7 separate regions of the Homo sapiens genome follow, and all the other regions are linked to region 3. The links are contacts of gene promoters, found by promoter capture Hi-C in blood cells and fetal thymus (Javierre and others, 2016). All regions are on one chromosome and are shown on one strand. Each heading gives the region's core, a stretch centred on a gene start or on the middle of the fragment in contact. The rest is flanking DNA. Distances are from core to core; before and after follow the strand shown.

Region 1 (2,911 bases), core at 398-2,897, 500 kb before region 3:
TTAAACTCTGTGTTAAAGTATTTTCTTAGTGGTTGCCCTAGGAATTACAATGTATTTCCCAATTTATCCAAATCTACTTTTGATTAATACTAACAATTCTAGTCAAACACAGAAATGTCACTCCAGCGTACCTCCATTTCCTCTCCTGCTTGGTGCTGTCATTGTTATATTCCATTTATCTGTGTTGTCAACTCCAAAATAGTGTTATAATAATTTGTGTCTCTTAAAGAAGCTAAAGGAAAAAAGAAAAAAAGTATATTGATAGTGTTTTTTGTTGTTGTTGTTTTGAGACGGAGTCTTGCTCTGTCGCCCAGGCTGGAGTGCAGTGGTGTGATCTCGGCTCACTGCACCCTCCACCTCCTGGGTTCAAGCAATTCTCCTGCCTCAGCCTCCTGAGTAGCTGGGACTACAGGTATGTGCTAACATGCCTGGCTAATTTTTGTATATTTAGTAGAGACGGGATTTCACCATGTTGGACAGGCTAGCCTCGAACTCCTGACCTCAGGCAATCTACCCGCCTCGGCCTCCTGAAGTGCTGGGATTACAGGTGTGAGTCACCACGCCTGGCCAGGGTTGTTTTATATTAACATATTTACTTACCATTTCCAGGTCTCGCTCTTCATTTCTTCCTTTGGATTTAACAGCTGGTGTCATTTCTTTGCTTCATGTATCTTCATTCTCTCCTCACTCCTTTGCACTGTCATATATATTACATCTGTATATAAGTTCAACAATGCAATTTTATGATGCTTTTAGCAATTGCTTTTTTAAAATTGGGAATATATAATTATACTATCTTTTATAAATCCTGTAGAATTATCATTACTAGTGTCCTTTGTTTTTGTGGATTTTAATTACTGTCTGGTATTTCTTTCATCCTGGAGAACTTCTTTAGTATTTCTTGTATTTGTAATTGTCAGGTAGATATTTGTTTATACCTTACAGATATTTGTAACTATTGGAACTTAGAGATCCTATTTAGAAACTCCTTAATTCTACAGGAGAACAAGAGAGCAAAGTAATATGTCAGGAAGAAAAGCAACCAGCAGGAAAAGTGGAAGGGTTGGTAGTGAGTAGGAAGTGAAGGGATTGTGGAAAGGTAAAATTACTGGCCAGCATATGCCTGCTCCCCCTGTACCTTCCCAGCTCCTTGTCTTTCCATCACAGCCACGCTTCAAAACTCTAAATTGGAATCAGACTACCACCATTTGATGTAATTTCCTGGGAAAAAACCTAGTAACTATGGTTTGGAGCCATTACAAATTATCAGTCTCCCTCCAATCCCAGCCTTCTGCTATCTTTATTCTCATTCTAGTTCCCTTCACAGCTTTAATATCAGTTAAACGCTGTTGCAACCTTCTCCTTAAGCCTCTTGCTAAGTTAAGAAGATCTCACTACTTTACCCTTCAAGCAGAAGATCATGGCTGTCAAGGAAAGAACTTTCCCTTTGATACCCCCAGACCTTGTCCCCCTCTCCCTCCCCCATTCTCTGTTCCTCCTGGAGCTGATGCTGCCTCTGCTGTGGACTCCATCCCCTAGGGTCCTGTTCCATCCTTAGGGAACTTGTTCCGTCCAGATATCCCTTCTCTTATCTTTAGCTGGGCTCAAGCCTTCTCTCTCTTTGTCTGCTTCTCTTGTTCACACTTTTGTCCATCTTTCCAGCTCTTTGGAGTATCCCCAATATACACGTACCTTAGTGAGCTTGTAGGTGTTCCTTACAACCATTTCAAAGGCCTGTCTTCTTTTCTACATTCTTTCAAGTTTGCTTCTTTTCTCTGTTCTTCAAAACTTGAAAGCAGCATTTCTTCTTCTGGATGGCCTTCAGTGACCATGCCTTCCCATTAGAAAGCCTTCTGTGTTGGTTCCCGCTACGTCCTGTGAGCCTCTCTTTAGCGGATGCATCCTGCTGTGCAGTCGCATTGTGGGGCCTGTGTGCCTCCTACAGAAAGCAGCCTTTGAACTCACGGTTCCTGACATGCAGGAGGTGCTCAATAACTATTTTAACATGAATCTCTAAATGAGCCAATAGACTTTGGTTGTGAACACCTTTCAGATACTCTGGTTTCCTTCCACAGACACCACCTCAGATAATTTTGGATACAACCTACTGACGTTCATCATCTTATACAACAATCTTATTCCCATCAGTCTGTTGGTGACTCTTGAGGTTGTGAAGTATACTCAAGCCCTTTTCATAAACTGGGTGAGTATTAAAGCAGAGTTGAATCACTATTTTCCAATGCTATTTCAGAGCCTTTGGCATTTAATTGAGCACTCAAAAAAGAAGAACTATATTCATTTACCATTAGGTCCAGGGGCTTAAACTGGCCATACAAAGAACTGGCCAGGGATCACCAGTGAGGGTGTTTTTGGGGAATGGAAGGGCAGTGGTACCTATTCAAGGCGTTGTTGTGAGGATTGGTCAGAGAATGGGGTGGAATGCTGAGCCAGTGCCTGTCATCTGGCTGCACCTGCTATTCACGCTTTTAACATCTAATTAAGGCTGAAGAAAAGGCCTCTTGGGTGTGTTTACTATAGTGGTCACTCGCATATCAAAATTCATTGTGATAGTCAACTTGGATTTGATTGTAAGGGTGGAGATAAGATATTTAAAGGACTGCCATGGCTCTTAAGTAGTGGACTTTAGCAGCCAGTATTTGTAGACCAGGCACTTTGATGTGCATTTTTATTTGATCTTCACAGCAATCCCGTCAGCAAGGTGAGAATCATGAGTTAGTCTAGGTTGTGAAATGATTATTTTGAAATCAAATCATATCTATATAAATATAAATCATGTGTGTGTGTGTGTGTATGTGTGTGTGTGTGTGTGTGTGTGTGTGTGTGTGTGTATTTCTTTTTTAGATGAAGTCTTGTGCTGTCACCCAGGCTGGAGTAAAGTGGTGTGATCTTA
Region 2 (2,700 bases), core at 179-2,678, 430 kb before region 3:
GCCTGTAGTGCCAGCTACTTGGGAGACTGAGGTGGAAGGATCACTTGAGCCCAGGAGTTTGAGGTTGTAGTGAGCTATGGTCATGCCACTGCATTCCAGCCTGGGCAACAGAGTGAGACTTAGTCTCCACAATAGCAACAACAAAAAGCCAGGACTATGATTTTTTTTTTTCAAAAGTTCTTCTCAGTGTCAGCTCAGAAGTGATAAAAGGTTTTCCACCTTTTTTTGTGTGTTTTTTATTAAGAAGAAAAGATTTGAAAGGTAAATAGAAAAATCTTGTAAATTCACCAAATCACCAAATACGTGTTTTGAAACATAGTAGTTTTTCTAATTTATCAGTCTCATTTTCTAATTCTATCCTTATGACCAATATCTCTGCCTTTGCTCTGGATTTATCACCTTCATGGACTTTTGGACATGGGAGAATTTTATCCTGATGGAAGTAAAACTGCACGGACTTCTCTTGTGTTATAGAAATATGTGTGTGTGTGTATACGTGTATATATACACATGCATATAGAGATATATATGCATATCTAGATGAGCATAAATGCATAAATTATGCATAGATTATAAATGCATAAATTATGCATAGATATATGCATATACCTATATATGCATATATCTATAATGCATGTATGTATGTGTGTGCATATATATACATGCATAAATATAAATATACATATATCTATATTGTGTGTGTGTGTGTGAGAATGGAGTGCCATCCTTCCCCTTCCTGGGCTGTAAGCTTGTTTGTTAGTTAAGACTTCATGGTAGAAACTGGTGTATTCATCTTTAAAATATTTTGCACATTGGTGGTGCTTAAACGGCTTACTGAATTGGACTCTCCAAGAAGGGTATTTCTTAATAGAAAACTGTCTTGCTTTATTTGTTTTCGTTTACACTTAACTAGTTGACATAACCCTCAGGACAAGGACTGTGGGCATTTCTTTCCTTGCTGGTCTTACAAGCTACTGATATATGGCATTTATGACTTTGGCAGAGATGGTGGGTTAAATCAAGGGGCCAGGATTCCTTCATCACCTAAGGACTTGTGGTTTATAAATACAGAAGAGGAAAAGGAGACAAATGAAATTACAGAAATGGCCTCAGCTTGATTGAGTTATAACCTTCACTGTCTGATTTTTATAACTCTAGGCAAGTACTCTACCTTTTTTATTTCACTTCAATGTAATTTATATTTTGCTAAGTTGTTAGGTGGCCCAGTTAACCTTAACAAGATACTTAATGTTAACTAGTTTTCTGAATATTTTCAATGGTGCCTCTATTAGAGAGTATTGTATGTAGGTGAACAATGTATTTCCCAAGCACAAATTACAGTATTTCCTCAAATTATATGTTCTAAAGGCAATTGAGGTATGTATGTAATTATGTGTTAATCAAGTTAGTGATTTGCTATTAATTGGGTAAGTACAAGTTGTGTGAGTTACACTTGCACAGGGGTGGTCTTGTCTCTGAGCTGCTTTCAGAAAAATAGTTCAACCAAGTAAATTGATTAGTACAATTTTCCTATGACCAATCCTCTTAAGTTTTTCATTTCTATTTCAACTCCTGTAAGTTTAACAAGATTATCATTTTAAAAGAAATTCCTTCCATCTGCAGATGTGTGTTGCTTCTGATATATTTGAATCAGCTGAAATCTAAAAGTTTTTTACATAGGAATTATCTCTAAAGATATAAAATGGTCTTATTTTTCCTTAATGGTGTTAGGAAAACCTAATAGCAACAATGGATTGTGCATGATCAATTTTATCTAGTCACATTTTGGGGGATCTTTAAGCAAGAATAGGCAACAAGAAAATGTGCATTTAGTGTTGGAAGGGATGAGAGATTAGTTGTGGATCTGAGGATTATTCTTGCCTCAACAAGTGGAGAATTGGAGATACTCTTCATGAGGAGTGACACTCAAGTTTGAGCCCCGTAATCAAGAGACAGGAGAAATGTTAATAAGAGAAAACCTTTTATTTTGTCAGATCCCTTTTTGAGGAAGAACAAATGCAGTTTTTGAAAGCATTAAGCATTTAGAAAAGGGTGCAGAAATGTAGTAGGACAAAATGTGCCTTAAAACATACAGCCTCTTTATGTCCAAAGCTTCCACACAACGTGAAGTAATTGTCTGAAATTACAAGTGCTACTATAGTGATTGAACTCTAGCTGCTAATTGAGCCTTCAGGTTTAAAAATACACAGGCCTCAGCAATTCAAAGATTATTAAATTACACCTTCTTGTGGGAACCAACATCAATGTGTTTGAGCAGTGAGTAGTGAAGGTCTTTGGGGAGGCAGGGGCAGAGGGTGTCTCATTACAGCGTTTGCCACTGCAGATCTCTTGAGGGTTGTTGCTTTTTCTCAAGACGAAAGATTTTGTTAACACTTCATTCCACAGAATGTTGAAAAAAGTGGAGCTCTCTTGCATCACATGACTGTTACTGCAAGTTTTGTGTTGATCTCTGAATAACTAGAAATTTCAAAAATTTACTTATGAACCAAAAGGCATAATTGGTGTATAACTCAATTATTTTTATTTAATCCTCACAACAGCCTATGATGTGAATGGCTGTGTTCCCATTTTACGGATGAATATGTTAGGCTCAGAAGTGACCTGTCAAAGGTCACACAACTAAGTAGAATTGCTGAGACTGCATCTACTGGCTCTGAAGTTTGTTTGTTTGTTTTTTTA
Region 3 (2,700 bases), core at 1-2,500:
GCAGCTGCCGCAGCAGATGGTGGCGTCGCCGCCGTCGAAGCGCTCGGGACACTGGAAGCCGATGCGCCAGACGCCCTGCGCGTCCAGCCAGCCGTGGCAGTACTCGCCGCTGGCCCTCGCCCCCGCCGCCAGCAGCGCAGCCAGCAGCAGCTGCAGGAGCGAAGCGGCGTTCCAGGATGAGGAGACGGACGAGCGGCGAGCGCCCCACATGGCACCACCCTGGGCGCGGACAGCGCGTCTCCAGAGAGCGCAGGACGGTCTCCGAGAAGTCGTGGCCCCGGCGACCCCCGGGCCTCGTCACTGACTGTCCCGCGGCGCTTTCCGCGCGGGCCACTCCCCTCTGCCGCGACGCCCAGGAGGCGACGACGCCGGGCCCTAGGTCCAGGAGCTCCTAAGCCATCCCCGTCCTCAGCCGGTGGCCCGGTCCCCTTAGGGACTGCCTTATGAGTTGCACTCGCTGATGGAAATCTCGGGATGCAGTCAGAAGGCCCCCGGGGCTGTCGTCCGGAAGCCTCTGGAGGTTTCACTGGCAACCGGACCCTCCCTGAGCATCCCCGAAGGGATGCTCACTCGAGCCGAATGACCGCTGGGCGCGCCGCCGCGGACCTGGAGCCAGGGCTCTGCGCAGGGTTTAAGCCTCAGGGTCCCGCGCGCGAATCAGGGCCCGTCTCCCCTCCTTTATTCCCTCCTCGGGCGGGTAGAAGGGGCGAAGGCGGGCAGTGCACGCAAGGCTCTGGGCAGCAAGTGACGCAGCCGGCCGCGCTCAGCCTCCTCTGCCCCGAACTTGGTCCGCATGGCTCCGGCCGGGCCGCCCGGGCAGCCCACGGGGGTGCAGCCCCGACGCTCCACTCGGCGGGGCCGACGGCCAATCTTCCCAGCACGTCGCCGAGGGAGCGCTCCTGACCCCGGGAACGTCCAGGACGCAGGCGAGGGTCCTGCGCGCCCCCAGCCGCAGTCCCGGGAGCCTGCCCAGCTGGCGGCGGCCGCGGCTGCTGCTGGGCGCGGATCCAGGCGGGCGGCTCGCCCCGGTTCCCCTTCTCCGCCTCCCCGGCTGCAGCGCGGTCCCACAGGAGCCCGGCAGCCTCCGGCCGGCTCTCCCTCTCCCGGTCGCTGCCTCGCCCTCGGGAGGTGTGCGCACCGATGGAAGCCTCCCACGGAAGTTTCTTTCCTCCGGGCTACGGGAGAAGCCGAGCGCAGCAGCCGCCCACAGCCTCGCCTCGCCCCGCCCGGCGCCAGACCAGCTCCGACTCCGCTCGCTGCCGCGCTGAGCCGCGCTCTTATAGAGGCCGGCGGCTCCCCGGCGCGCATGCGCGCTGCGCGGCTCCCCCCCACCCCCGACCTCAGGGACGCCCGCGGGCGCCGGGCAGCCCCTCACTTTCCTACCCCGGGCAAGGAGAAAGGTGTGGCCAAGGGCGGGGTCTGCCTGCTGGAATAGGCGCGGGAGGAAACCCAACCTAAGCAATCCAGGCCTCGCTAACACAAATAACAATAATAACGGAAGAAACTCAACTTGCTTTGTGAAGATCTTTGGCATTCAACATTCGGTTCGATTCTGCAAACTTCTCAAGGGATTATGATTACTTTCCACTCTGCAGATCATAAAATCGCCACTCAGATGAACTCTCTCGGCTTCCAGCAGCTGATGTCCTGGCCACGGTTGGTCCCAGGCCCTGTGCAGGAAGAGCACCGATGTTTGTGGCAGGGTTCACACGCCTAGGGCTGTGTTTGGTGGACTGGAGGCCTCCACCACAAGGTGGAACGGAGAGAGTTCAGCAAAGATGTCACACATTCGGCCACGGTGTGGATGATCTGTGTCCCTTTTTCTTTCTATATTTGGGTGTGGTGATTTATCGGATTCCAGCAGGAAAGTGCCTCCGTCCAACATGTGGCCTTAGTGGTTTAGACAGCTGCAGTCAGGAAGAAAACAAGGTTCAGACAGACCAGAAATTCAGCTTTGATGAAGGAGAAATTAATAGCTTCTCTCTTGCAGAAGCTGGAACAACAGGTGCTGATGTTATTAAAGCAGCAGTGCTTATTTTTAAAGGAACGAATGCCCCTTCCCACACCGTCTGGGAGTCAGCAGACCTGAATTCTAGACCCAGCCCTACTAGCAGGGAATCACTGCGTTTTTCTGGTCTCAGTTTCTTCATCTATAAAGTGGAGCATAGGATGTGACGATCACTAAGGTCCCTTTCAAGTCCATGACTTCAGAACACAGGCAGTTTTATTCACAGCAAAGACACTCAGGTTCAAGCAGCCATTGGATGCTTGTGTATGCCTGGTTAATGTGAAGATTCAGACATTGTTGATTATTCTTCCACTTGCCCCAACAATGTCAAATCCAAGAAAAAAAACCCTACCCTATGTCCCTGCTCCCCAACACACACCTTATTCTTTTCACTAAACCTCTCTCCAAGCATTGCACTTTGTTTTCTTGCAGTTTTTTGGTTGTGTATCGTTTTAAGCTACACAAAATTATATACTTTAAATGCACTATTCACCAAATGTCTTAAGCTAGTAAGCTAAAAAAAATTTCAATGTCAAGAAATCATTCATTCAAGAAATACACGCCATGCACTTACAGTGTACTGTGCTCTGTGCTGGGTACTGGGACTCATCAAGAAGCCAGACAGCATGGCCATTTCCTTCAAATAGGGCCTAAAGTCTCCAGGGTAAAATACAGAAATCAGACAAAAAGAC
Region 4 (2,700 bases), core at 51-2,550, 360 kb before region 3:
CCTTGCTAAGAAATGTGAAGTTCACAGGAGAACAAAACTGGGGAAAAAGGTAGGGGACAGTCGTCAGTAGCAGTCACTCACTTTCGACATTAAATTATGCGTTTGTTTAATTGTGAAGGAAAATACAATTGTAGAACATGCACCAAAAGCTAGAAATATACAGTTTAATGTTAACACCTAAAAGCAAAATACTAATTAAAGATTTTGGAATATTTTTTATCTTTCTGGGTATGAAACCTCCAGCCCTGACTTTTTATGCCCCTTATAACAGCTAAGTCCATTGTAACTTTCAGTAATTGGCTTTTTATTAAAATAAGAGACTGTAGTATAAATTTTAGCAACTGGACTAAATAGGCATTAACTGGCCCTGGGATCCAACCATAATTTGTAACATCGTTCCTCTGGGAAAATGGATTCTAAGTGCCCAATAACTACCTTACAAATAGACTCTTGAATCATAGTCCATTTGAGAATAAGGAACTGTTTGTGATAGTAATACCTTCAATTGGCTCGCTTGAGAACTGCACAGAAGGGACCTATGTTCCACCACATGTGTGTGGTGAACCCAGCTCGTCTGGGTTTGATCAAAGATTATTGCCGAGTGGGCATGGAAAGTGCAGGAATTAAACTCAAAGTAGAGGCTGGAGACACGTCAAGGGTGGCGTTAGAAGGATGGACCTGGAGGGCTCTTAGTGGTAGGAAGAGGATTTCAATCCCAGAGGCAAAGGAGTGTATCTGAGCAGATGAAGGGCAGGGAGAAGAGAATGGAAGAGTAAGCAGGATTGAGATTGAGAACCAGCCATTTTCAAGCAAAATGTAACTCAAAGTGTACCAGTAAGGCTGAATAGCCCACCAAGAGGTCAGAGAGAGACATCCCTCAGATCTCTCTGTCTCTCTCTCTCTCTCTGTTTTATTTATTTTTATTTTATTTATTTATTTTGTCTGTCACCCAGGTTGGAGTGCAGTGGCACGATCTTGGCTCACTGCAACCTCTGCCTCCCAGGTTCAAGTGATTCTCCCACCTCAGCCTCCCAAGTAGTTGGAAATACAAGGGTGTGCCACCACACTTTTCTAATTTTTGGGTTTTTGTTGTTGTTGTCTGGAGATGGAGTCTTGCTCTGTTGCCCATTTGGAATGCAGTGGCACGATCTTGACTCACTGCAACCTCTACCTCCTGGGTTCAAGTAATTCTCCTGCCTCAGCCTCCCAAGTGGCTGGGATTACAGGCGTGCACCACCACGCACATCTAATTTTTTTGTATTTTTTGTATTTTTAGTAGAGACTGGGTTTTACCACATTGGCCAAGCTAGTCCCTCTCCTCCTCCTGCCAAGGAAGAAGAACCATGTATTGGCATCCAGTCTATCCTCATGTGTGCTGCAGAAATAACCCTAACTGGAGAAAGCTGCCTTCCTAAGATGAGCACCTATGTCTCCATTTATGCTGTGCCCTCTTACAAAAAGCCACAGGCAATGGGCTCCACATTTCAGAGATTTTTATTCCTCACTCTTTCCCTCCTTGGATCCACGCATAAGTCCAGTGGGGAGGCCCATGGGACTTGGCACTGAGCTAGACTGGGCCTCTACTGTAGCACCTGGATGCTCTCCCTGGGCCAAATCTGTGTACCTTGTCTCATCTCTTTGGTGACGTGCTTCTCAAGAGGTTTTTCTGTCCTTCATACACTGACCCCCGGCAGGCACCCCTCTAGAATTTCCCAGACTTACCTGAATTTCCTGGTGAACACACCCAGGCTGCCAAGCTGGCATTTCCCCAGGTCAGGGTAATTTTTTTCTCTCTACCCAAATTCTAAAGGGCAGGCTGTTGTTTTAGATAAGGAAGGCATAGATGTTTTCAGGATGCTTGTTTGAGATTCAGAATTACAAAGCTAATTGACAATAAAAAGTATAAAGTTTATTTATTTTAGAGACAGGCTGTTGCTGGACTGCAGTGGCATGATTATAGCTCACTAAAGCCTCCAATTCCTGGGTTCAAGCGATCTTTGCACCTCACCCTTCTGAGTAGCTGGGACTACAGGCATGCACCATCATGCCTGGCCAATTATGTGCCTATATGTCCCTTTTTTTCTAGGGACAGAGTCTCACTCTGTTGTTTAGGCTGGTCTTGAACTCCTGGCCTCAGGTGATCCTCCCTCTTTGGCAAAAGTGCTGGGATTACAGGCATGAGCCACCATGACTGGCTTCTTTGTTTTTAATAAAAGTCCATTTAACTTTTATGCATAGAACATTATTCTATTAATGTTTCGTCTATTGCAGGCATACCTCAGAGATATTGCAGATTTGGGACCAGTCCATAGCAATAAAGCAAATACTGTAATAAAGCAAGTCACACTATCTTTTTTTTTTTTTGGTTTTCCAGTGCATATAAAAGTTATGTTTACACGGTACTGTACTCTATTAAGTGTGCAACAGCATCACATCTTTAAAAAACCCAATGTGTGTGCCTTAATTTAAAAATACTTTTTACTAAAATACGCTAACAATCGCCTAAGCCTTCAGCAAGTCATAATCTTTTTGTTGGTGGAGGGTCTTGCCATGACATTCATGGCTGCTGGCTGATCAAGGTGGTGGTTGCTGAAGGTTGGGGTGGTTTTGGCAATTTCTCAAAATAAGACAACAATAAAGTTTGCTGCATCTGTTGACTCTACTTTTCACAAAAGATTTATCCATGGCATGTGATGCCGT
Region 5 (2,918 bases), core at 306-2,805, 460 kb before region 3:
TTTAAGGAGCTCACAGAAGGAAAGAGAAATTCACATGTTGTCTCTTCCTCCACTTCAGGGTATTCCTGCCGATTGGTATCGCAGAATATGGCCCTTATCCTATTGAAGGAGGACTCTTTGGATGTAAGTAGTTTTTCAAAGTTGTATTTGCTTTGCTATAACAGTATTAAACTCTTTCTTTCTACTATCATTGATAATCAGGGATCATGTTTTGCTAAAAAACAGTTATGAAAAAACTGTGTTTATTTTCTGTTTATATTTATATTTAAGAATGGATGTCAGAAAGCCTTATCTTTAAACATCAAAACAGTAAGCTTAGAATATTGCCTCATGATAATACTTTTATTCATCTAGAATTGTGCATTTAAAATGGGATAGTTTTAATCTGATTTAGCTTTAATCATTAAGTATGAAATATTAGTGGAACCTATTATGACCTACATTAAATGGTGATGGTTAATTTCACTATAAGTTACTAAGGAGACATGTATGATTTTCTTTCTAGCACAAACTTTAGAATAAAACTAATATTCAAGTGTTAAGCATTGTTTAAATTTATATAGTGAGGCCAGGTGCAGTGGCTCATGCCTGTAATCCCAGCATTTTGGGAGGCGGAGGCAGAAGGATCGCTTTAACCAAGGAGTTCCAGACCAGCCTAAGCAACACAGCAGGACCTCATCTCTACAAAAAATGGAAAAATTGGCCAGCCGTGGTGGCATATGCCTGTAGTCCCAGCTGCTTGGGAGGCTGAGGCTGGAGAATTGATTGAGCCTGGGATGTGGATGCTACAGTGAGCCGTGATCGTGCCACTGCTTTCCAAGCTGGGTGACAGAGTGAGACTCTGTCTTGAAATAATAATAATACATTCGTATAGTAATAGGATACATGTATACTTAATTCTCTGATGTCCCAATGCTGCCGCATGAACCCACCCCATCATGGCATAAAGCCACTGAACAGACCAGCAGTGGGAGCTGATTTGAGGGTCACCAGCAACCTGTGAAGTGGTTTGATATGAAAATATGAGCTGAACAATGAGATTCCACTTGTCAGAACTTTTAACAAGGGCTTTGTTACTGGCAGGCACCCATAGCACCCTTTCAGGCAGTATATTTAATATTTATATTTAGCCAATGCCAGGGGCAGATGGCACGGTTAATTACTCTTTTAAAGGGAGGCAATAAAGTACAGAGCTTTCTATACTTGCAAATTGAGAGGGCCATAACTCCTATCGTGAACACCAGGATACTCTCTACCCCTTCATGAGACCAAGGGCAGGAGGCAGGGGGAGAGTCCGTAGTTCTGTATGTTTCCAAGGCACCACTGGCAAGAGACCACCCTCTGGCGTGAGTGCTTCAGAATTCATCTCGGTACACCTCCTATCCTTGTTCATGTTACTGCCTGCAGGCAGCCCAGAGTCCCAGGTCATACCTCATCTCCTGGAGTCTAATTCTCACATGCTCTGAGGAAATCTCTCCTCTACCCAAGTGTTTCAGTCTTCCCCCTCTCACACGTCTTTATTTTTCTCCATGGAACCTCTCATCATTGGAAATACTATGTGTGTGTGTGTGTGTGTGTGTGTGTAAATTGTTGTGAAATACATCATTTAAGTGTACAGTTCAGTGGCATTAAGTATATTCATATTGTTGTGTAACCATCACCACTATCCATCCACAGAACTCTTTTCATCTTCCCAAACCAAAATTCTGTGCCCCTTTGAACAACTACTCTCCATTCCCACACCTACCTCATCCCCTGGCAGTCATTCTGCTTTGTGTCTCTATGAATTTCACAGCTGTAAGTACCTCGTGTAAGTTCAATCATATAGTATTTGTGATTTTTATGACTAGCTCATTTCATGTAACATAATGTCTTCAAGGTTCATCCATATCGGACCATGTGTCAGAATTTCGCTCCTTTTTAAGGCTGATTAATATTCCATTGCATGCCTATACTACATTTTGTTGATTCATTAATCCATCAGTGGACAGTTGAGTAGCTTATAACTTTTTTTTTTTTTTTTTTTTGAGACGAAGTCTCACTCTCTTGCCAGGTTGGAGTGCTGTGCCAAACGAGGCTCACCGCAACCTCCAATTCCTTGGTTCAAGTGATTCACCTGCCTCAGCCTCCTGAGTAGCTGGGATTACAGGCATGCGCCACCATGCCTGGCTAATTTTTGTATTTTTAGTAGAGATGGAGTTTCACCATGTTGGCCAGGATGGTCTCAATCCAACTTTTGACTATTGTGAATAGTGCTGCTATAAATGTGGATATACAAATATCTTTTTGAGATCCTGCTTCTAATTTTTGGGGACATATACCCAGAAGTGGAGTTGCTGAATCATATGGTAATTTTACATTTCACTTTTTGAGGAACAGCCATACTGTTTTTTTACAGCAGCTGCATCGTTTTATATGGTTTGTGATTTTTCCATATTCTTGCCAACACTGGTTTTTTTTTTTTTAATAGTAGCCACTCTAATGGGTTTGAGAGTGGTATCTCATTGGAGTTTTGATTTGTATTTCCCTAATTATTAGTGACAATGGACATCTTTACATGTGCCTTTTGGTCATTTGTATATCTTCTATGGAGAAATGTCTATTCAATCCTTTGCCCATTTTTTAATCAGGTTTTTTTTCAGTGTTATGACATAATTTGTATTTTTTCTACCTCCCTTTAGTCCCTTAGACTGTAAGGTCCATGGTTAAAAACCTGTTTAAAAAAACTGGGCATCTCCACCTTCAAGACCTTGCTTTGCACATATTATGCACTCAGTAAATGTTTGAATGAATGAACAAGCTTAAGATAATTTTCTAGTCATCAATAAGAATTTCTATTTAAAAGTCATGCTGATGAGATAGTGGCTACAGTAGCCATGAGGGGCTGAGTACAAGTTGATGTTACTAAGAAGTAGAAA
Region 6 (2,860 bases), core at 76-2,575, 440 kb before region 3:
GATTCATTGGCAGGTAAAAACTAAAGCCTACTCTATAAGTTGGAACATGGTTATTATTTCTTAGAGATTAGCTCTCTACTCTGCTTTCAATAGGGAAGTTCTTGACTTATTAAATTGCCAGTCTCCTTCATCCAGCTGAATGGTCTAGTTCTTCTACTTAAATTTAAATTATAAGCCTACTGGAAAGTATTTTTGTCCAACTGAGCATATTCATTTCGTTATTCAGGTACTTTTGCCCCTTATTACCAGGAAATTAAATGTAAAAATAGTGTGAAACAAAATGATTGGTATACTTAAACACCCCCAGACACCCATCCACCCACACATTTTCTATAGAGGGTTAATGAGAAGTGAAAATGTTTTTCTGTGCTATCCATTGTAATAGTTGCTAGTCACATGTGGTTATTAATCACTTGAAACATAACTAGTTTGGTTGAGGAACTATCAATTTTAAGTAATTTAAATTTTAATAGCCACATGTGACTAGTGGCTACTGTACAAGGCAGCAGAGTGTAGATAATTTTCAAGGGTCCCCGACCCCCAGGGCACGAAACAGTACTGGTCCATGGCCTGTTAGGAACTGGGCCACACAGCAGGAGGTGAGTGGCAGGCGAGCTCCCATTTACCACGTGAGCTCCACCTCCTGTCAGATCAGCAGTGGCATTAGATTCTCACAGGAATGGGAACCCTATTGTAAACTGGGCATGTGAGGGATCTAGGTTACATGCTCCTTATGAAAATTTAACTAATGCCCGATGATCTGAGGTGGAACAGTTTCATCTTGAAACCATCCCCCACAACCTGTGTTAAAATTATCTTCCACAAAACGGGTCCCTGGTGCCAAAACAGTTGGGGACTGCTGCCCTAGGACAAGGGCTGGCCAGCTCTGGCGAGTGCGACAAATCCAGCTCACCACTTGTTTTTATAAATAAAGTTTTATTGAAACACAGCCATGCACACTGATGTACTGTCAATGATCACTTCAATGCTACAAAGGCAGAGTTGAGTACAGATGCCCCTCGACTCATATTGGGTTTACTTCTGGATAAACCCATTGTAAGTTATAAGTTGAAAATAACGTTTAGTACTCTGATAAACCGATTGTTAAGTCAAAAAATCGTAAGTTAAACCATCAAAGTCAGTGACCATCTGTAGTTGCAACACAAACCGCATGGCCCACAAATTGTAACATATTTACTATCTGGTTCTTTACCAAAAGTTTAGTGACCCCCTGCCCTGTGTAATCAGATGGAAACTGACTCAATTCCAGTTCCATTGCCAGCTGTAGCTATATTTCTGAAACAGTGTTTTTAAAAATGTTAACAAGCATTTTTGGGAGAATTGGATCTATGGCTAATTTGAGAAGATGCAGAGTTGTAAATAATGAAGTAGATTCATCTACTACACTTTTTACACAATCTTTAATCCCCTTATTTCACTATAAATCATGCAGAGGTTTATTATATAGAATATTTTGTTAACCAAATTTATTTGACCAGTGATTTTCTTTTTTGGTAACTCTTGTTATAAGGGACACAGACTTAGAAATGCTGCTTTTTAAAAATAGTGAGTTTTCCTCTTAATAGATGATAGTAAAATAAGAAGCATGTGAAAGAGAATCCTCAGAGTAGGACAAAGGAGAAACGGATTGAATTAGTCTATTTTGTGTTGCTATAAAGGGAATACCTGTGCTTGGGTAATTTATAAGCCAAAGAGGCTTATTTGGCTTATGGTTCTGGGACTATACAAGAAGCATGGCACCAGCATCAACTTGGCTTTTGGTGAAGGCTTTTGTGCTGTGTAAAAACCTGTAGATAAGGTCAAAGAGGGAACAGGTATGCCAAGAGGGCCTGAACCCCACAATGGGGAGCAAATCTCCACATGAGATTTGGGGTGACAAAGCATATCCAAACCATAGCGTGCATATTTAATTTCTGGGTTTCATTAAAGCAACAGATATTTGAGTACTTTTAATAGGTCTGGCAGTTTGCCCAGGTTGTAGACATAGGATTACATGACAGTATGTTCTCTACTCTCAAGTTTCTGTTTGTGCTGTTATAAATTTGAGCAGTCATCATTAAATCTCAGCTATACATTTAAGTTCTGTTTGTGACAGTTGCCACAAAGGAAACGTCTAAGGTGCTAAGTATATATGGTTAGGAAAAATCTTGCAAACTTTTTCTGTAAAGGACTAGATAGTAAATATTTTAGGCTTTGTGTGCCATATGCTGTAGGTGTCACCTATTCAATTCTCCTGTTGTAATTAGAAAGCAGCTGCAGATGACACATAAACACACATCACACAGACAAATATGTCAGTGTGATTATGCCATACATACATCTATATCTATCTGCATTTGCATACTTCTCAAGCACTTTTCAAAAATGACCATACAAATCATAAAGTGTTAACAGAATTTTGGAGAACTGATTTTCATGCAGCTCATGTTCTGTGAGTGCTATGCCCTTGCCCAAGACCTTCAAAAAGGTCATCATACAAATCTTATATTCTTGGAAAATTAAAAACCTATACTTACAAATCCAGTGTCAAAGAGGAAATCACATTGGAAATTAGAAAATACTTAGAATTGAATGATTAAAAAATACTTTTGCATCAAATTCATGGGATATGAATATCCCAAAGAGGGAAATTTTTGTAGCCTTACCGATTAGATTACAAAATAAAAAAGACTTAAAATGAACAAGCTATACATACAATTTAAAATGTTAATAAAAGAGCAAGAGAAGATCAACAAAACCAATAGTAAGATTCTTCAAAAAAACTAATGAGATAGGCAACAAGCAAGTTGATGAAGGAAAAAAAGCAAAAAGATAAAAATAAACAATTTTAGGAATGAGA
Region 7 (2,700 bases), core at 131-2,630, 400 kb before region 3:
ATGGAATTTCTTTAAGAGGATTTTTCTAAATTTTTTGTCATCATTTTATTGATCTCCCTTTCATTAGGGTCAATTTTTGGAGCTTTGTCAGTTTCTTTTGGAGATGTCATGATTTCTTCCTGAGTCCATGTAATCCTTGTGTCCTTGCGTTGGTGTTTGTGTACTTGAGATAACAACCTTTTCCAGCTTTCACAGGCATTCTTTGGAACAGACCCTTATTATGTAGTTTAACCTGCAATTCTGGTTGGGCTAGCTGGTAACAGCCTTGGGCAGGCAGAGCTTATTTTGGAGTTCTCTAAATGTCTGGGGTGCTGCCTTTACCTTGAATTCACATGGGGCAGCTGGCTGGACTGAGCTTCACAATCAGGCTGAGCTGCTGGATGGGCACTACAGTAGCCTCAGATCAGGCCAGGGTGTGTTCTCTGCTCAAGTGGTACCACTATTTGAGTTCTGCAGTTGGCCAGGGTTGTGGGAGGGGCCTCAAAGTTAAGTGGAGACACTGAGATGGACAAGACCAGATGCTATGCACAATAGAAATGCATGGTTGAAGTTTTCCTTCCTGCCTGTGTGGGGCCTTAGGGTGAGTTAAGTGTTGAGGTTAAGTGCTGTGTAAACTTTCCCTCTGCTGTCCCTGCTCTTCAATGAAGTTTGCTGCATTGGTTGTCTCCCTGCCTGGGTAGGGTCTTGGGGTAAGCTTTGAGGTCACACCAGGTGTTGTTAGACTCCCAGGTGTGGCACAACTAGCTTTCCATTTTGCTGCAATTCCCTGTGGTGGTTGTTGTCCTCCATGGGCAGGGCCCTCAGGTAGAGTCCAAGGCTGGTCCTGGATTGTGCCTGTCTAGGAATTCAAGCCAGGTAGCACTTTCCACCTCTTCCAGGAGTGATCAGCTCAGCTTTGCCTGTGAGCTACACTGTTAGCTGGTACCTCTAATCAGGTACCTTTGCTGCCAGGTACACAAAGCTACCACCAAGATCTGTACACTCATTGCTTTGTTTCCACCTGACCCCAGGTGGTCTAGTTGTGCTGTATTCCGCTGTGTTCCCTTTGAGGTGAGACCAGAGTGGACTTCCTAAGAAGCATCTTGGAATGCTAGGGAAGCTGGATATTTGCTTTCGGGTTCTCTTTTCCCTCTGTAGAAACCATGGTTTTTGGGAAATCCCGTCTGTGAGGCCCTGGGCCAACTTGAGGGATGGGGTGGGGCAATGTTGTCAAAGTGAGATAGTTTCTCTCACCCTTTCCATGCGGCTTTTATTCCATGCTGTGGACCACACAAGTGACTCTGACTTATTCCTAACTTGGGGAGTTTTCACCAAGGCGTTCTTGTCTGTGGATAGTTGCTAGTTGAACTTTTTGTGGGGTAGGGGGGTAGTGAAACCTGTGACCTCCTATCCCACCATCTTGCTGATGTCGTCTGAATTCTCTTTGTACATTAGTTTTGTGATCTAGGAACTCTGAACTCTCTTATTAATTCTAATATGTAGATTATTCTGGATTTTTAAATGTAAACAAAAATACCACTTCTGAATAACAGTTTGGATATACCCTTCCAGTTTTTATGGTCTATTTCTTTTTCTCGACCTATCTAGCTTACTAGAACCTCCACTGCAAAATAGAAGTAGTGTTGGGGCCAAACAGAAGTAGCGTTAAGGGTACTTCAGCTTTTTTTCCAATTTGAATTCTACTAATGTTTTACATTTAAGGATGATGCTTATTGTAGATTTTCTGTAAGTACTGTTTATCAGGTTATTATGAACATTGTTTCGAGTGTATCAACTAATTTTCCTGTATTTATTGACATGATCTTATGGTTTTTCTTTTTTAATCTTTTGATTTGTGAACTACATTCAATAATTTCCCAATGTTAAACCAATCTAGCTTTCCTAGAAATAGCCAACTTGGTCATGATGTGTTACTTTTTAAAATACATTATTTGATTTTGTTTTAGGTATTTGTTTAAAATTTTATATCCATATTTGAATGTAATTTGCCTATAGTGTTCATTTTTCTGCATTGTCCTTATTGGATTATGGTACCACAGTTACATTATCCATAATAATGAGTTAGGGAAGCTTTCCCTCTTTATCTCCTTTGACTTAGTTTATGTAAAGCTGAAATTATTTCTTCCTTGAATGCTTGATAGAACTCACTTGAAATTTTCTTTGTGAGAAAATTTAAACTACTAAGTCAACTTCTTTAATTATTATAAGATTATTCGGCCAGGCGTGGTTGCTCAAACCTGTAATCCCAGCATTTTGGGAGGCCAAGATGGGTGGATCATGAGGTCAAGAGATCGAGACCATCCTGGCCAACATGGTGAAAACCCATCTCTACTAAAAATACAAAAATTAGCTGGTCGTGGTGGCGTATGCTTGTAGTCCCAGCTACTCGGGAGGCTGAGGCAGGAGAATCACTTGAACTCGGGAGGCAGAGATTGCAGTGAATCAAGATCACGCCACTGCACTCCAGCCTGGCGGCAGAGTGAGACTGTTTCAAAAAAAAAAAAATTATTCATACATTCTCATTTCTTAGAAGTCAGGCTGTTATAGTAAGCTTTTTTTTCTGCAGATTTATTTTATTAAATTTTCAAATTTATTGGCCTAAAGTTGTTCACACCTATCATCTTTTTTATTTATGACTATAGCATCTCTCAGTTTTATTCAAGTTATATATTTCAGATTTTATTTATTAGAGAATTGTGA

Evidence for each region. The method cuts DNA at HindIII sites, captures the fragments that hold promoters and counts their contacts. A CHiCAGO score of 5 or more calls a contact.
Region 1: a contact is called between a fragment that was not itself captured here and the fragment with the promoter of SHISA2 in region 3, in 1 of 17 cell types (megakaryocytes). The highest score is 6.2, in megakaryocytes.
Region 2: a fragment that was not itself captured here is called in contact with the fragment with the promoter of SHISA2 in region 3 in 9 of 17 cell types (fetal thymus, total CD4 T cells, activated CD4 T cells and 6 more); the score reaches 9.0 in fetal thymus.
Region 4: a contact is called between a fragment that was not itself captured here and the fragment with the promoter of SHISA2 in region 3, in 7 of 17 cell types (fetal thymus, activated CD4 T cells, non-activated CD4 T cells and 4 more). The highest score is 9.6, in fetal thymus.
Region 5: a fragment that was not itself captured here is called in contact with the fragment with the promoter of SHISA2 in region 3 in 16 of 17 cell types (fetal thymus, activated CD4 T cells, megakaryocytes and 13 more); the score reaches 23.0 in fetal thymus.
Region 6: a fragment that was not itself captured here is called in contact with the fragment with the promoter of SHISA2 in region 3 in 5 of 17 cell types (naive CD4 T cells, fetal thymus, activated CD4 T cells and 2 more); the score reaches 7.5 in naive CD4 T cells.
Region 7: a contact is called between a fragment that was not itself captured here and the fragment with the promoter of SHISA2 in region 3, in 6 of 17 cell types (fetal thymus, activated CD4 T cells, naive CD8 T cells and 3 more). The highest score is 10.5, in fetal thymus.

The regions. Positions count from the first base shown.
Region 1 is chr13:25,551,718-25,554,628 of GRCh38, forward strand. It overlaps ATP8A2 (ATPase phospholipid transporting 8A2), which reads left to right. Exons shown (of 37, transcript NM_016529.6): 12 at 2,076-2,203. Among named protein-coding and RNA genes, the nearest start is that of ATP8A2, 180 kb to the left of the region's middle. The HindIII fragment of the contact is 6,965 bases long and covers 1-2,911 here.
Region 2 is chr13:25,623,269-25,625,968 of GRCh38, forward strand. The region is part of intron 24 of ATP8A2 (ATPase phospholipid transporting 8A2); the gene reads left to right. Among named protein-coding and RNA genes, the nearest start is that of ATP8A2, 250 kb to the left of the region's middle. The HindIII fragment of the contact is 1,364 bases long and covers 747-2,110 here.
Region 3 is chr13:26,050,766-26,053,465 of GRCh38, forward strand. It overlaps SHISA2 (shisa family member 2), which reads right to left and starts at 1,251. Exons shown (of 2, transcript NM_001007538.2): 1 at 1-1,251. The coding sequence starts at 210. LINC00415 (long intergenic non-protein coding RNA 415) reads right to left here. Exons shown (of 2, transcript NR_146971.1): 2 at 1,511-1,907. The HindIII fragment of the contact is 15,847 bases long and covers 1-2,700 here.
Region 4 is chr13:25,692,782-25,695,481 of GRCh38, forward strand. All of the region lies in intron 24 of ATP8A2 (ATPase phospholipid transporting 8A2), which reads left to right. Among named protein-coding and RNA genes, the nearest start is that of ATP8A2, 320 kb to the left of the region's middle. The HindIII fragment of the contact is 4,592 bases long and covers 1-2,700 here.
Region 5 is chr13:25,589,577-25,592,494 of GRCh38, forward strand. It overlaps ATP8A2 (ATPase phospholipid transporting 8A2), which reads left to right. Exons shown (of 37, transcript NM_016529.6): 24 at 59-123. Among named protein-coding and RNA genes, the nearest start is that of ATP8A2, 220 kb to the left of the region's middle. The HindIII fragment of the contact is 2,486 bases long and covers 313-2,798 here.
Region 6 is chr13:25,606,392-25,609,251 of GRCh38, forward strand. The region is part of intron 24 of ATP8A2 (ATPase phospholipid transporting 8A2); the gene reads left to right. Among named protein-coding and RNA genes, the nearest start is that of ATP8A2, 240 kb to the left of the region's middle. The HindIII fragment of the contact is 4,774 bases long and covers 1-2,860 here.
Region 7 is chr13:25,648,948-25,651,647 of GRCh38, forward strand. All of the region lies in intron 24 of ATP8A2 (ATPase phospholipid transporting 8A2), which reads left to right. Among named protein-coding and RNA genes, the nearest start is that of ATP8A2, 280 kb to the left of the region's middle. The HindIII fragment of the contact is 1,376 bases long and covers 693-2,068 here.